Linked DNA regions of Homo sapiens: regions 2 and 3 are each linked to region 1. Evidence: promoter capture Hi-C in 16 types of primary human blood cells and fetal thymus (Javierre and others, 2016). All regions are on one chromosome and are shown on one strand. Each heading gives the region's core, a stretch centred on a gene start or on the middle of the fragment in contact. The rest is flanking DNA. Distances are from core to core; before and after follow the strand shown.

What was found. Contacts are between HindIII fragments. The CHiCAGO score rates a contact against its expected background, and 5 or more counts as called.
Region 2: a fragment that was not itself captured here is called in contact with the fragment with the promoter of B3GALNT1 in region 1 in 1 of 17 cell types (total CD8 T cells); the score reaches 5.6 in total CD8 T cells.
Region 3: a fragment that was not itself captured here is called in contact with the fragment with the promoter of B3GALNT1 in region 1 in 2 of 17 cell types (total CD4 T cells and naive CD4 T cells); the score reaches 6.7 in total CD4 T cells.

The regions. Positions count from the first base shown.
Region 1 is chr3:161,103,407-161,108,422 of GRCh38, forward strand. It overlaps B3GALNT1 (beta-1,3-N-acetylgalactosaminyltransferase 1 (Globoside blood group)), which reads right to left and starts at 1,943. Exons shown (of 5, transcript NM_003781.4): 1 at 1,829-1,943; 2 at 913-1,000; 3 at 21-111. It overlaps LOC124909453 (a long non-coding RNA gene), which reads left to right and starts at 1,275. Exons shown (of 2, transcript XR_007096147.1): 1 at 1,275-1,479; 2 at 3,165-5,016. RefSeq lists silencers at 1,498-1,747, 1,758-1,847. The HindIII fragment of the contact is 4,654 bases long and covers 45-4,698 here.
Region 2 is chr3:161,456,531-161,461,546 of GRCh38, forward strand. No RefSeq gene overlaps it. Among named protein-coding and RNA genes, the nearest start is that of LINC02067, 33 kb to the left of the region's middle. The HindIII fragment of the contact is 258 bases long and covers 2,652-2,909 here.
Region 3 is chr3:161,440,331-161,445,346 of GRCh38, forward strand. It overlaps LINC02067 (long intergenic non-protein coding RNA 2067), which reads left to right. Exons shown (of 4, transcript NR_102265.2): 3 at 3,271-3,366. Among named protein-coding and RNA genes, the nearest start is that of LINC02067, 16 kb to the left of the region's middle. The HindIII fragment of the contact is 2,855 bases long and covers 1,404-4,258 here.

The DNA.
Region 1 (5,016 bases), core at 693-3,192:
TTAAAAGTAGATGAACTTACCTGTGGAATTCCAGATGAAATTAAAGCTTAAGTTTTTTGTTGTTTTCTGTATTCCATGCTTAATTAAAACACTCAGATCTGTTGTGAACTACTGAACAGAAGAACAGAAAAAAATATATATGAGTCATAACATTAGGAATTATGACATCTAAAATCAATGTTGTATACTTAGCAAGTTGTTTTTGGAGCCATTTATTACATATCAACACTTTTTTCATTTTTGGAAAAGCCTTGATCCTCTCTTCTCGCTTTCAAATCACCTCATGCTCTAATCTGAAATTATACTTGGACACTGTTTTTTTGTTTTTTGTTTGTTTTGGAGATGGAGTCTCACTCTGTTGCCCAGGCTGGAGTGCAATGGCACAATCTCGGCTCACTGCAACCTCTGCCTCCCGGGTTCGAGCAATTCTCCTGCCTCAGCCCCCCGAGGAACTGGGATTTCAGGTGTGTGCCACCACACCCAGCTAATTTTGTATATTTAGTAGAGACGGGGTTTCACCACGTTGGCCAAGCCGATCTCGAACTCCCGACCTGAGGTGATCTGCCCGCCTCGGCCTCCCAAAGTGCTGGAATTACTGGCGTGAGCCACCGCGCCCGGCCTGGATGCTGTTTTGACAACAGTGTTTATTTTCAGGTCTGGAGTTATCCAATGGCCATTCATTTGAACGAACATTTTAGTCTATGAGGGGAAAAAAGTCATAGTCTCTTATCTGTTAGTAATAAACGATTCTGTTCTCCAGACTGATACGCGTTCAGTAATTTGTGCTTTTATCAGGCATCGACACATGCATACTAAGAGCACAAATTCAGCGCCCTTCTTTTGCTTAAGCCTCCTGGGAGAAGCTAAAAAACTTGTTCCCAGTTGAACACTGCAAACCCAAATTTTCCTTACCTCTGAAAACAGAAAAAAAGACATGGTTTGGCAATTTCTTCCTTGATAGCTTTTCCCACAACGCAGCCACCTCCTAAACGCAGGCAATCTGTGCAAAACGCAGAGGAAACAAAATCATGAAAGCCCTGCAAATCTCCCTCCTAAATCCAACATTAAGAAGGCGAACGGATACTGAATTCAAAGACTACCCGTACTTGAGGATGGCATCATTCCTTACTGCTTGGAAAAGTGAGACTCCGTTGCACCTCTAGGAATCTTTTTAAAACGCCCTGTATGTTCCTTAACACTGCCTGTAGGAATCCTGTAGCCCTAGCCCCGTGGGATTTCCTTCTCTCTCCGCCCGTTCTCCACATTCCCCACTTAGTTTCACATTCCTTCCCAATCCCTCCGACATCCCTGCGCCGGGGCCCTTCCCTAGCGCTCCGGGAAAGCGTTCGCCGCAGGCCTGTTAGGGGCCCACCAATACCGTAACACCGTTCCCGTCCTCTTCCTCGGCACCGCTGCAAACGCCCCGGGTCGCTACCCGGATTTGACGGTGGCTGGAGCGGCACGGGCGACGCAAGGCAGGTATTGCACCCTGGGGCAAGGCAAGGTGGACAACCAGCGGATGCGGCGCGGCCGCGGCCTGGGCCTGGGCCCTCCGCGTCGCCCACTGCCCCACTGGGCCCCTTCTCCCGCGCTCACCGGAGGCGGGCAGCTGCTCGTCACCGAGACCCGAGACCCACGGTGCGGCGGCTCAACCTGGGCCACGCTCCGCTCTAGAGGAGTGGGCGGTGCCTCCCGGCCTAGCTGCCGGGGTCTAGGCGTTTCCGAGGACGGCGCGTTCCGGGAAAGGCGGGTCCGGTGGCTATACCCTCCACCCAGTGGCAGGACTCAACCGCCTCGGAGACCCTGCAGGGCCGCCCTTCTCACTCACCTCCTGTGCTCGGCGCGCACCCAGCTCGGAAGCGGGAAGGTGGCCGGCGTTCTCTCCCTGCGCACACACGCAGCCTCCCCGCATCCGCACGCACGGCCGGGCGCGCGCAGACCACGCGCCAGGGCCGCGGCCGGAAGCCCCTGGCTGCACGCGCGGGCCCAGGCGGCCCCCAGCCCTGTGAGCTCGCATGGCGCGCCCTCTGGGTCCTCGCGGTCACCTTGCATTCCGAGCACGGCCGTGTTATGTATGCCTTTAGTTGATGCTGGCCAAAATTAGACAACTTAGTGGCAGACGTCGAGCTAGAATTTTTGTTTGAGATCCTTTTTCCCTGGTCGTCTTTCCAAACTGCGTGAGTGCATGGCCTCGAGGCGGCCCTGGAGGGATTTTCTTGTTAAACTTCATACAGAACTAATTAGGAAAGAGGAAATCTTAGGAGGAGTTCTTTGCTGTCTCAGAAGAAATGCCAGTTCTTCTTCCGGAATCGATGGGGAATGGAATGGGGGTAAGAGAGACACGTCAGGTTTCAATGGCCTGTGTATGGATGGGAGTCCCAGGGAGTTGCTTTTGTACACCTGAGCATAGCTGACCTAAACTCCCAGATCCATCTCCTCAAACTCCTTTTACCAAGATGTGCAGTATTGATTGTACTGGTCCTTTCCTCAAAATCAAGTGGGTCTGGATCATGTATTTAACCACTACCAAGCTCAGCCATGAGCACCACCCCTGATTGTAACCCACACATTTGCATCAAGACTAAACGTGGCCCACCATTTCTTTTTGTTTACTGACTCTTTGGCCTGACTGCTTCTTCCTTATAGCCTTTTTCTGCAAAATTACTTAGGATAGTTTGAAGGTTCTCTGAAAATAATAGGGGTGAATATAGAGATCAAAATGGATATACAACAAAAGTAAGTTTAGATAGTAGCAGTGTAAGTCAAGGACTTAGTTGACACTGCATAAATAATCAGATCTAAATTATAATAATCAGATCTAAATTATGGTTGAGATTGTTTTCCTGGTTCCAGCCTTGGCAGGTAGCTGTGTCCTTTGCAGAGGGTAAAGTGATTGCTGCCCTGCTGCACGCCTTTATCACAGCCATTCTTCACCCTACCTGGGCTGACAGTTCACCTCACTAAGTCAAGGAGGTCCATTAATAACAAAACCAGACAGGTTTCACTGCAGATAGATTAATATGCTGAAAAAATAGACCTCTTATTTGGAAGAATGCTTTAGGGCATTAATACTATATTTTACAAATTCCGTTTCTTAAAATTTTAGAAAAGTTGTATTTCAATACTCATTTTTAAAATGTTTTGAATGTCCTTTGAGTAACCAGCAGGTATATGTGCTCATAGCTGCCAAAACTTCCCTGGAATGCAAAGCAGAGCCATGGACAACAGATTGGGGTAAGAAATTCTCCTAAATGAAGTAAGTGAGACAAAAAGGCCCAAAACCTTTATGAGATTATTTCCTTTGAAGCAGTCTCCTTTTTCTTTGTGTAGCATTTATCAGCTTGTGATTGAGTCATCTATTGCTGCAGATCGAACTCTCCCAAAATATAGTTGCTTGCAAAAATGTCAATTTAATATTTCTCATAATTCTGAAGGTTGGTTATGTGGTTCCTCTCTGGTTTTGATTTGGCTCACTCGTATAGATACATTCAGCTGTAGCAGGGGTTGGCCAAGTTTTCTGTAAAACAGGATCAGATAGTAAATATTTTAGACTTTGTCTCTGTCACATATTCTTTTTTATTTAATTTTTATAAACTATTAAAAACCCAAAGCTATTCATAGCTCAAGGGCCATACAGAAGCAGGCTATGGCCTACAGGCTGTAGTTTGCTGATCCCTGAACTGGAGAATCAGCTAAGCTGAAAGTCCAAGGTGGCCTCACTCATGTGTCTGCTGTTGGCTCCATGTGGCCTCTTATCCTGCAGTAGGCTATGTTTTTGGTCTGTGGGCAACATCCAGAAGAGAGCAGGCAGAAGCTGTAAAATTTCTTAAGGCCTAGACTTGGGAGTCACACAAGATCATATATGCCAAATTCTACAAATCAAAGCAAATTGTGAGGCCTCTCCAAATCCAAGGGGCAGGCAAATAGTCTCTGCCTCTTGATGGAAGGAGCTGCAGATAATGTGGCCAGAACTAGCTAAACTAAGTGGCAGGAACCTTATTCTTGAAAGTAAATCATCAAACTTCAAATTTATGATATCTGATGGCAGCTATTGTTCTTACTCACTTCTCTCCCCAAACTACCCAAACCTGTTTATAATTCTGTGAGCACTCACTTGCCTCAGAACTTGTTTACAGATGTCTCTGCCATGAGATTATCAGCAACCTGAGGGAAGAGACAGGCCCTACCGCACTGCCTTGCTGTAATATATCTTCAATAGATATATATGGAATTTAGCTGAATAGCCTTACTGAGGTTTAAAGTCAGGTTATTTGCTTACTTCACAAAAGCAAAATAAATTTAAGTATCCTGCACTATCTACAAATTCCAGAAGAAAAGCACACATCAAAGAGTTATATGTCACACTCACATACCATCTGACCAATAAGATGGAAACCTTCCTAGCAATTTTCCGAACATATAATCAAGAGTTAGGAAGCCATATGCCTAATGATAAGTTTGAACTAGCAGTCACCTTTAAGGCTATATTACATTTTAACCTTAAATTTGTCTGCAGATGAAAATTGAAATGTAACAACAGTTCTTTCGTAATATGTGCTATATATGTTTCAAGGCAGATGTGGTTCTGGGCAGGGTTTCTAATCTACAGGAAATGCTTCTACTAATTGTTCAGTTGAATTTTTCAATATGTGCCTTCTCCAAAATCTGACTGTGACTGTCTTCTTCCACTTGATGGAAAGCTTTGACAATTTATTATGCTTAGAAGCAGCTGGGGTGTATTTCTAATTGATGATTTGTTATATTTCTTACTTGACTATCCACATCTTTCATTCTCTTCAGCATTTTCCTCCAGCACTTCCTGTCTTACTGAATTTGATATATGACACTGCCTTTGTGCAAATGTAGACAATATCTTCAGCCTTCTGCCTCTGTCCTTCAGATTACAAATACATGCGAGAGTCATGCTAGTAACACGTATGTGACACTTAAACATTAATACAGTATATTCACATACACTTTATCAGTTGATTATTAATACACCAATACTGTGGAGGT
Region 2 (5,016 bases), core at 1,531-4,030, 350 kb after region 1:
AGGGCCAGCAAATCTTATAAATATTGAAAAGAATATATTATGAATACATAATGAACAATTTTATGCTAATCAATTCAACAGCTTAGATGAACAGAAAATCCTTTAATAGATAAAAACTTCTAAAGCTCAAGAATAGATTACTTGAGTAGCCCAGATCACATGGTGAATTCTACCACATAATTGGGAAAGAAATCATAACAATTCTATGCAATTTTTTTTTCCAGAAAATAGGAGAGGACACTCATTTTATGAGACCAGCATAATCCTAATGCCATTAAATCAAAAACATTGTAAGAAAGCTAGAGATCAATATTCCTCATGGACATAAATGCAAGAATTAATTTAAAAACTAGTAATTTGAATTGAGCAATGTTATAAAAGGATAATACATTATGTCCAAGTGGTGCTTATCCCAGGAATGCAAGGTTGGTTTCACAGTCAATGTAATTTACAATATTAACAGACAAAAAGAAAAAAAGTATGAACGTCTTAAAAAGATGTGGAAAAACATTTGACAAAAATCAACATTCTTTTCAAATAAAAATTATTAAAATCTAGGAATATAAGAGAATTTTCTCAACTTGATAAAAGGCATCTATTAAAAACTTCCAGCTAACATTGTACTTGATAAAAGGCTGAATGATTTCCTCTCAATATTGGTAACATGGCAAAAGTGTCTACTCTCACTACTTCTCCTTAACGTTGTAGTAGAGGTCATAGTCAGTGAAATAGGCAAGGAAGAGAAATAGAAGTCATACAGATTGGAAAGGAAGAAATAAGACCATCTTTATACATAGACAGCATGATAATTTATGTAGAAAATCCTGAGGAATCTGTAAAAGGTTACTAGAAGTAATATGTAAAGTTGGCAAAGTGTTAGGATACTAGGTAAACAAAATCGGTTGACTTATTTCACTTAGCATAATTTCCTAAGGCTCATCCATGTTGCATATTGCAGGATTTCCTTCTCTTTTAAGGCTGAATGGCATTACTGTGTATATATATATATATATATATATATATATATATATATATATATATATGTTATGTTTTAAAAATCCATTCAACTGTTGGTGGATATTTAGGTTGTTTCTTCATATTGGCTTTGTGAATAGTCCTGCAATGAATATGAGAATACTAATATCTCTCTGAGATCTTGATTTCAATTCTTTTGGGTAAATACCAAGAAATGAGATAGCTGGATATTATGGTAGCTCTATTTTTAAGGCTTAAAGAAGCCTTCATACTGTTTTCCCTAATGGCTGCACCAGTTTTCATTTCCACCTACAGTGCACCAGTTTCTCCACATCCTTGCCAACAATTGCTGTCTTTTGTTTCTTGATAGTAGTCATCCTAAAAAGTGTGAGATGATATCTCATAATAGTTTTGATTTGGATTTAGCTTTTGTTGAGTACCTTTTCACGTAGCTGTTGGCTATTTGTATGCCTTCTTTGGAGAAATGTCTCTTCAAGTCCTTAGCTCATTTATTTAATTGGGCCATTAGTTTATTTTTTGCTATTGAGTTGTAGGAGGTCCTTATATGTTTTAGAAATGAAACCCTTATTATACATATTGTTTGTAAATAATTTCTCACATCTGTTGGCTTCCTTTTTGCTCTCTGTTTTAAAATTTTTATTTAATTATTTATTTTGAGACTGAGTTATGAGACTTGCTAAGTTTTGCATTTTTAACAGCGATGAGGTTTCACCATGTTTCCAAGGCTGGTCTTGAACTCCTGGGGTCAAGGCATCTACCCACCTTGGCCTCCCAAATTGCTGAGATTACAGGCATGAGCCATCACCCCCAGCCCCTTTTTGCTCTTTTGATTGTTTCTTTTGCTGTGCAGAAGCTTTTTAGTTTGATGTAGTTTGTTTATTTTTGCTTTTGGTGTAATATTCGTAAAATAATTGACAGACCAATGTCATGTGAAATAAATCAGTCACAGAAGGACAAGTTGTTCATGATTTCACTTGTATGAACTATCTAAAATAGTCAAATTCATAGAAGTAAGGAATAAAATGGTGATTGCCAGGGCTTAGAGGAAGGGAGAAATGGTGAGTCATTAATCAATAGGCCCAAAATTTTGGTGACACAAGATGAATGAGTTCTAAAGATCTGATGGGCAACATTATGCATATAGATAATAATATTGTATGGTGCACTTAAAAATCTATTAAGAGGGTAGATCTCATGTTAAGTGTTCTTACCATAGAAAATTATAAAAGCATGTCTGGGAAACACTAAAAAAAACTTCAACCCAAACCAAATGAAACAAAAATCCAAAAAAAAAATGACAGATGGCCAGTGGGTGAATAAAAACCCCAGCATCCTAACCCATCAGGTGGAATAATTCTGAAGTGTGTTCCACACTGTCCCTGAGTTCTCAGATGGTATTGAGACGTTTTTGTCCATAGGAATAATCTCCCTGATAACTCACCATATATATGTTTCCTTCCCTGCCCTGTCTCACTTCCCACTCCTCCTTTGGTCCTATTGAGCACAATAAACTATTTGTACTTGTTGGGGCTCAGGACATACCACCCCAAAATATGAATGTGAGTAACCAGAACATGCCACCCCAAAATACACATCTTTAGCATATTTCGCACAGGTTATTTTGAGAAACTGCAGATACAGGAGTAACTCCTAAAAGCTTCCCTTTTATAAAGAAAATTTGCAACTATAAAGTAAATCTGCATTAGTAAAGATATCTGCATTAGTAAAGATATCTGCATCAGGAAGAGGGCTGCTCCAAGACAACTTTTCTTATCTGAGAGACTTTTTATCTGTATAATAAGACAGATTTTATTCACTATACATTTTCTCCCCTCAGCTTCCCATAACTTGTTTCTACCATTCTCCATAGACCCCAAGCCTTTATTCTTTGCTGAAATTCAGGATGCTATATAAGCTTTAATTATCTGAGCTTCTTTGGGTTTCATATTTTGTGGGATTTCCATGTGTATGCATGTAATTAAAATGGTTTTTCTCCTATCAACCTGTCTTATGTTGATTTATCTTTATTGTATTTATTTTTAAAAATTTATTTTCAATTATCATGTAATAATTGTACATATTTATGGGATACAGAGTAATATTTTGTTACATGTATACAATGTGATTATAATCAGAGTAATTACCATATACATCACCTCAAAGTTTTATTATTTCTTTCTATTGGGACCATTGAAAATCCTCTCTTCTGGCTATTGGAGAATATATAATCAGTTATTATTAACTGTAGTCACCCTACAGTGCTATAGAACACTATAACTTATTCCTCCTATTTAGCCATAACTTTATATCCATTAATCAGACTCTCCTTGTTCTCCCTTCCCCTCTACCCTTCATATTCTCTAATAACCACAATTCTCTTTTCTAATTCAGAACTCAACTTTTTTAGCTCCCACATATGAATGAGACTTGGGGGAATGTTGAGGAGAAATAATTGCATTTTGCAATGTGAGAAGGACATGAAATTTGGGAGGGACCAGGGGAAGAATAATATGGTTTGGATTTGTGTCCCTGCCCAAATATCATGTCAAATTGTAATCTCCAATGTTGGAGGAGGGGTCTGGTGGAAGGTAATTAGGTCATGGATGTAAACTTCTCCCTTGCTATTCTCATAATAGTGAGTTCTCATGAGATCTGGTTGTTTAAAAGTGTGTAACACCTCTCCCTTCTCTCTTTTCCTCCTGCTCCAGTTATGTAAAATGTGCCTCCTTCCTTTTTGCCTTCTGCCATGATTCTAAGTTTCCTAAGGCCTTCCTAGCCATGCTTCCTGTACAGTCTGTGAAACCATGAGTCAATTAGCCTCTTTTTGTATTGTAATGGAATTGTATTCTTAATTTCTTTTTCAGGTAGTTTGTTATTGGTGTATAAAAACAGTAGAAATTTTTGTATGTTGATTTTTTATCCTTCAACTTTGCTGAATTCATTTATTCATTCTAAGCATTTTTTCCTGATGAGGGCTTTAGGCCTTTTTATGTATGAGATTATGTCATCCACAAAGAGAGACAATTTGACTTCCTTTTTTTGCAATTTAGATGTTATTTCTTTTCTTTTGTCTTGTTGAATTGGCTAGAACTTTCAGTACTATGTTGAATAAGATTGGTGAAAGTGGACATCCTTGTCTTTTTCCATTCCAGTTTCATTCAGTATGATGTTAGCTTTGAGTTTGTCATATATAACCTTTATAGTGTTGAGGTATGTTCCTTCTATAACTACTCTGTTTAGAATTTTTATTATGAAGGGATGTTGAATTTTATAAAATGATTTTTTTCTGCATCTATTGAGATGATCACATTTTTTTTGTTCTTCATTTTGTTGATATGATAGATTGCATTTATTGATTTGTATATGTTAAGTCATCTTTGTATCCCTGGGATAAACCCCATTTGACCATGATGTATTATCTTTCTGTTGTGCTGCTAGAGTCAGTTTGCTAACATTTTTTTTGAGAATTTTTGAGTCTGTTTTCATTAGGGCTATTGGTCTGCAGTTTTCTTTTTTGTGTGTCCTTGTCTGTTTTTGGTATTAGGATAATGCTGGCCTCATAGAATGAGTTAGAAAGAATTCCCCCTTCAACTTTTTGGAATAGTTTGAGAGGAATTTGTTTTAGTTCTTTCAAAGTTTGGTAGAATCAGTAGTAAATTTATTTGGTTGTGGGCTTTTTTTGTTTTTTAAATTGGGAGACTTTTTATCACTAATTTAATCTTGTTACTCATTATTAGTAAACTCAGATTTTCTGTATCTTCCTGGTTCAATCTTTGTAGGTTATATATGTCCAGAAATTTATCTATTTCCCCTATGTTTTTCAACTTGTTGACAGTTTTTTCATAAACATTTCTAATTATCCTTCTTATTTCTGTGGTATAAGTTGTTCTTTCCTCGTCTTTTTAATTTTTGATTTTATCTATTTGGGTCTTCTCTCTTATTTTCTTAGTTAGTGTAGCTAGTTATTTGTCAATTTTGTTTATTTTCACAAAAAACAATTTTTTCATTGATGTTTTGTAT
Region 3 (5,016 bases), core at 1,581-4,080, 340 kb after region 1:
TCCATTCCATTTTTACATTTTTACAGTAAATCCAAACCGTTTTTACAGTTTCCCTTACCATTCAGATTCTCATCACATTACTTAGGCAATTAAAGTAATGCCCTACTAGGACTCCTTGTGCCCAGCCTACCACTAAACACTAAAATTTGTGTTTTTATTATACCCCTCTGCTTTAAACAAATAAAAAAATAGCAAATAAAAGCCCCATGCCTGCAAAAGTCCATCGCCACCTAAAGAAGTTGTTCTCAAATACTAGCATGAGTAAGAATCACCTGGAGGGCCATGAAAAATACAGATCCCCAGGCCCTGCCCCTGATGATCTGATTTATTAGATCTGAGGTAGTGCCCAAGAAACTGCATTGTCAAAAAGCTCCTCTGTAGCAGGTGGCTCTTGCTGACTTGTAGGATTAAGTCCATCTTCCTTGAGTGGGTCTTTAGTGCTAGCTCCATCTGACTGCAGCCTTTTCTTAACCTTTCTCCACTATGCAAGCCTTCTGCTTTTTGACAGACAGCAATCCATTGTCACCAAGCACACACTATGCCAGGAGTTTTAAAGCCATGGCCAATGAGTTACCTTCTAGGGGACATATCAGGAGTTTAAAAACCAGGTATACAAATACTTAGACTTAAAATTTTTTTTCAAATTTTCTTCCTGTTTTTCAGAAAATGGTATTATGAAAAAATGTTTTATGTTAATATATAAAATTACATTATTGTGGTTTGTTTCAGCTCAAATATCTTGTACTGCAACTGTTTACGAGCTAAAAATGGATTGTTATCATGTCATATAATCTAAGATTTATTGATTAGAATTAAAGCAAATGTGCTCTGCCATTATGATTATTAATATTTTTGTTTGTTTGTTGATATTGGGTCTAACATACAATTAGAAAATGTTGAAGAAAATAAAATGTGACTATAAATATAGTAGCTTGGAAAACCTAACACTCCTAAACTCTTCAAATTAAATATATACACACTCACCACAAAGATGCACAAACATACAAACTTAGATGATTCCTTCTGAATGCCTAGGTTACCTCTATTTTTCTTCCCTTAAGTAAGCACATCTTTCGAATCTAATAAATGCTTGTGATTTCAGGCAAAGAATTAATAGGAAGGTATCTCAATAGAAGATAAGAAATCAGGACGTAATACTCTTTTTATCTCCCTTTCCCCACCTTTGGATGGCATTTGTAATTTTAGTTTACTTTAACTTCCCATGCCTGTCTATGCCACAATAATATTTGAAGACAATGAAAAAATACCAGGCTAACTTTAATGCCCCAATCTAGCCACTGCTAACCAGCCGTGGAATTCCTATTAAGTGACCATAGGCCATTTTGAATGTTAGATCTATATAAAACTGCAAAACTGACTTTTATAAAGGAACAATTGGCTCAAGCTTCTGTGTTCTCTTTCCTTACTGTGATCTGTAGCTAGATGCCAGGCCCATGGATATAATGCAATGGTGACAAAAAAGGGCTGGCTCAGGATAGCCCAGTCTACCAATGGTACCATAGCAGACACTTGAGGCTCATAGCAATGGAACTCCTATTGTACCAAATTTCCTATGAGTCAAGTGTACAAAAGTATAACATAAGTATCATTCTCCCTAAGATCTAGAAAGGTTTGACTTAGTCTCTATTCCACACTCTGTGGGAAAGTCCAGTGCTGTTCCCAAGATTTTTGTGGACTCTCTAGGGACACACCCTTGGGGCATCTCTGAGTCTGATTTCTTCTTTCTTGAGTTCTGGTTCTCCATTCTGTGCTTTGTGACTTTTTCTTTACCTCCTCTCTGGCATCAATCTGAGTGTGAAATCAGCTCTTTGTTTTCTTTTAAAACCCCACTCAATGTGTATGGATATAAAAGGAAACTCATTATCACAACATTTCAAACAAAGTAAGAGTGAGTATTAGGCATCTCTGCTCTTAAAATTGTTTTGGCCACTCTCTCCTACTTCTTCTACTCTTTCTCTCTTTCTCCTCCATCCAGTCCTTTCAGTAGAAAATAAAACAATTTCCCCCCAACTCATCCCCCAAACCTTCACCCCTTTCTCTCAATTGTCATTCTCTTCAAACACACATTCTGGCCTACCTTTAGCACGGGACTCAGCAGAAACTCAGAAATCACCCCATTATTAGAGGTTCACAAAATTACTTTCTTGCGTGTGGGTTATAGGATATTCTTTTACTGCTTCATATAAAATTTGTGTCTGTATGTATGGTTTTATTACAAAATTAATAAACTACTCTGATTTGAATGATAAGTCATTGAAATTGCTATACCTGCTTTTGGCAAATGCAGAAAAAATATTAGGGTTCAGATAGAGTTTGTTGCCCAAATTTCACTTCCATTCCTCCTTTATTGTAGAGTTCTGGCAGAAGGCAATACACAAAGATTGGGAGCTAGAAAGAAAACAACATGACTATTTATTAAATGATTATAATTACCAATGTACCTGTTATTGTCTGGGAGTACTCAGGCCTATACCTGTCTTGTACCACTGGGGCAGAACTCCTGAGAACCACCTTTCCCAGACCCCCTTGACAGCTGGTTTCCAGTTTGGTTCTTCTAATGGGATGGACTCCTGTGTGATGAGAGGGAGCGGGTAGAAGTCACTTGAAGGCCCTAGACTTCTGGTTCCAGCTGCATTGCTGACATGCACCTGTGAATGCTTGCAAGGTGCCAGTGGCAGGAGTAGTGGCAGCAGCAGCAGTGCATGTGTGCTCTGTGATGGCTGCCCACTGCTTAGGGCAGACCAGTGTGGCCTCCTGCAGGTCCTGGTCTCTGAGAGACATTACTTTCCCCTCTTGTCTTCCTCTAGGCCTTCCAATAGTATAGTAGCTTAATTCTCTGGATTAGGTTCTTTTCTGTTTTAAATAATTAGAGAGCTTTCTATTTTCCTGATTGAATCCTTGACTAATATCCCTCTATAATATGGCTGTTCTGGTAAGCTAAGTTAGAGGACAGGAGAGCTACTAAGGCCCGAGGCTTGAACAGGCTTTTTCAGAACTAAGATGGCTGGATCTGAAGAGAAGATTTTGAGCAGACTTATCTTCCCAGTCTAGGGAGGAGCTGCTGGAATGCAGAAAACGTTATGAACTTGCTCCAAAGAACCAGAGCCACATACACGTGCTAATTAGACTAAAAAACAGAATAGAAGAGAAACACCAGAACATGGCTGCTAGCCTTTTAAGAAAAAGCAGCCTCAGCGGCTCATAAAATGCAGGCCAATGACCTATCCATTGATAATCTTCTTCTTCTAGGAAGAAGAGTAAGGGGGAATGTGTGGAAGTACCCAACATGGATGGGGAGAGCTGGAAACGTCTGCCTGCTCTGAGCTGTGTTGGAAACCTGAGGAGGTGGGAGAAGCTGTTTCTGCTTATAACAGAAAACTGAACTCATTCTATCAGCCTAGCAGGAATGAGAAGAGGCTTATATTTTGTAATTGAGATACTCACATGGTTAAAATGATGAAATGTATATTTCATTGGGTTTCTCTTTTATCACCAACACAAAAGCTGGCATGATTCCTGTGTGGCTGAGTTCTTGTCAATGGTATCCCAAATCCCAAACAAAACCAAGGAGATACTTCATGTCTGACCATTCTGAAACTCATTGGAAAGTGTGAATCTTTTTCTTGAAACAAAGACTTGATTTGAAACAGCCAGGATTTTATACACACTCATATTTGACCCTAAATAAAAGCCTTGACTTGATGCCTGTTAGAATGCTAATTGGGCACCAGGAAAGAAAGAAACTACTCACATCGAGAGATCTTGATGAAACCGTGTGCCCTGGGAATAGTCAAGCTAGGAGTAGCATGGGGCAGGGAAGATAATTGAAGTAGTGTCTTTCCTAAATTACACAATTCTCTATGTAGCTGTTGACATTTCTCCTAATGTTTCATGACTGATCATAAAGTCAACACTAGTTTCTTCCACAGTGTTTTTCAGTGTAGCCAGCTCCTATTGATTGTCTATTGTGTGCATTCTGATGCTATCCAAGAAGTCCCATTTTGTGAACCTCTTTTGGAAACTGTAAAGGTTGTCAACAGTTTCAAAATGATGCAGTGTTTCTTAGCCAAGCAAAATTTGCCTGAAAGAAAAATCTCAATTTCTTGTGTGCAGACAGGACCCCTGTAATGCTTGGCACCACCCTGCGCTTTACTGCTTGGTAACATGTCAGGGTGATTCACTGTTGTTGACATGGGCATGCATTGGCATCAAAAGCCTTTTCAAAATTTTTGAAGGAAGCTTTGCTTACTGCTATGAAAAGTGTTAAATTTATAACGGCATCATTTCAAGATGTTTTGTCAAGAGATGGGAGCAAGATACAAAGTTCTTCTCTATTCCACCATTTACTGGCTTTCCCAAGAGCAAATCTGGTAATAAGTGATTGAATGTCACATGGAACTTTCCTTTTCTTGAGAGAAAAAGAAAGTAAATCTACTTTTAAAATAATTTTGGCATGAGAATAGCTCGCTTGTGGCTTGACTTACATAACAAATATTTTTGGTTACATACTTAAGGTAAATCTTTCGATTCCGGGTTCTGCAGTGACAATGGGTGCTACTGAAAAATTACAAGCTCTTTGACTAAGCTGTTGCTAGAGGTGGGCAAGTATGTGAACTTTTTGATACTGGATGAAGATATACTTTTGTACTCTGGAAATGGGAAAGCCAAGGAGATAGTGATATATAGATTCCTGGCAATGTGGCAGAGTTCTTTTGAAAGTTATTTTATTTAAACAACCTTAAAATAGGAATCTGGATTTGCAATTTTTTTCCTTGCTAACAAAAATAACACCAGTAATTCAGACTTGCTAAAGATACCCTCATTGATATGAGGACAAAAGAGAAGACTTGACTCATATTCAGTTCAAAGTCCTGGGGAATTCTGGTGTTGTTATGCACAAAATTATTCTAACCTGGCAAAATGAGTGATGAGTAGCTCTGATTCCATTTGCTGTGGGCAAAATGCTGTAATATTAAAAGCTGGCCCCCAAATCTC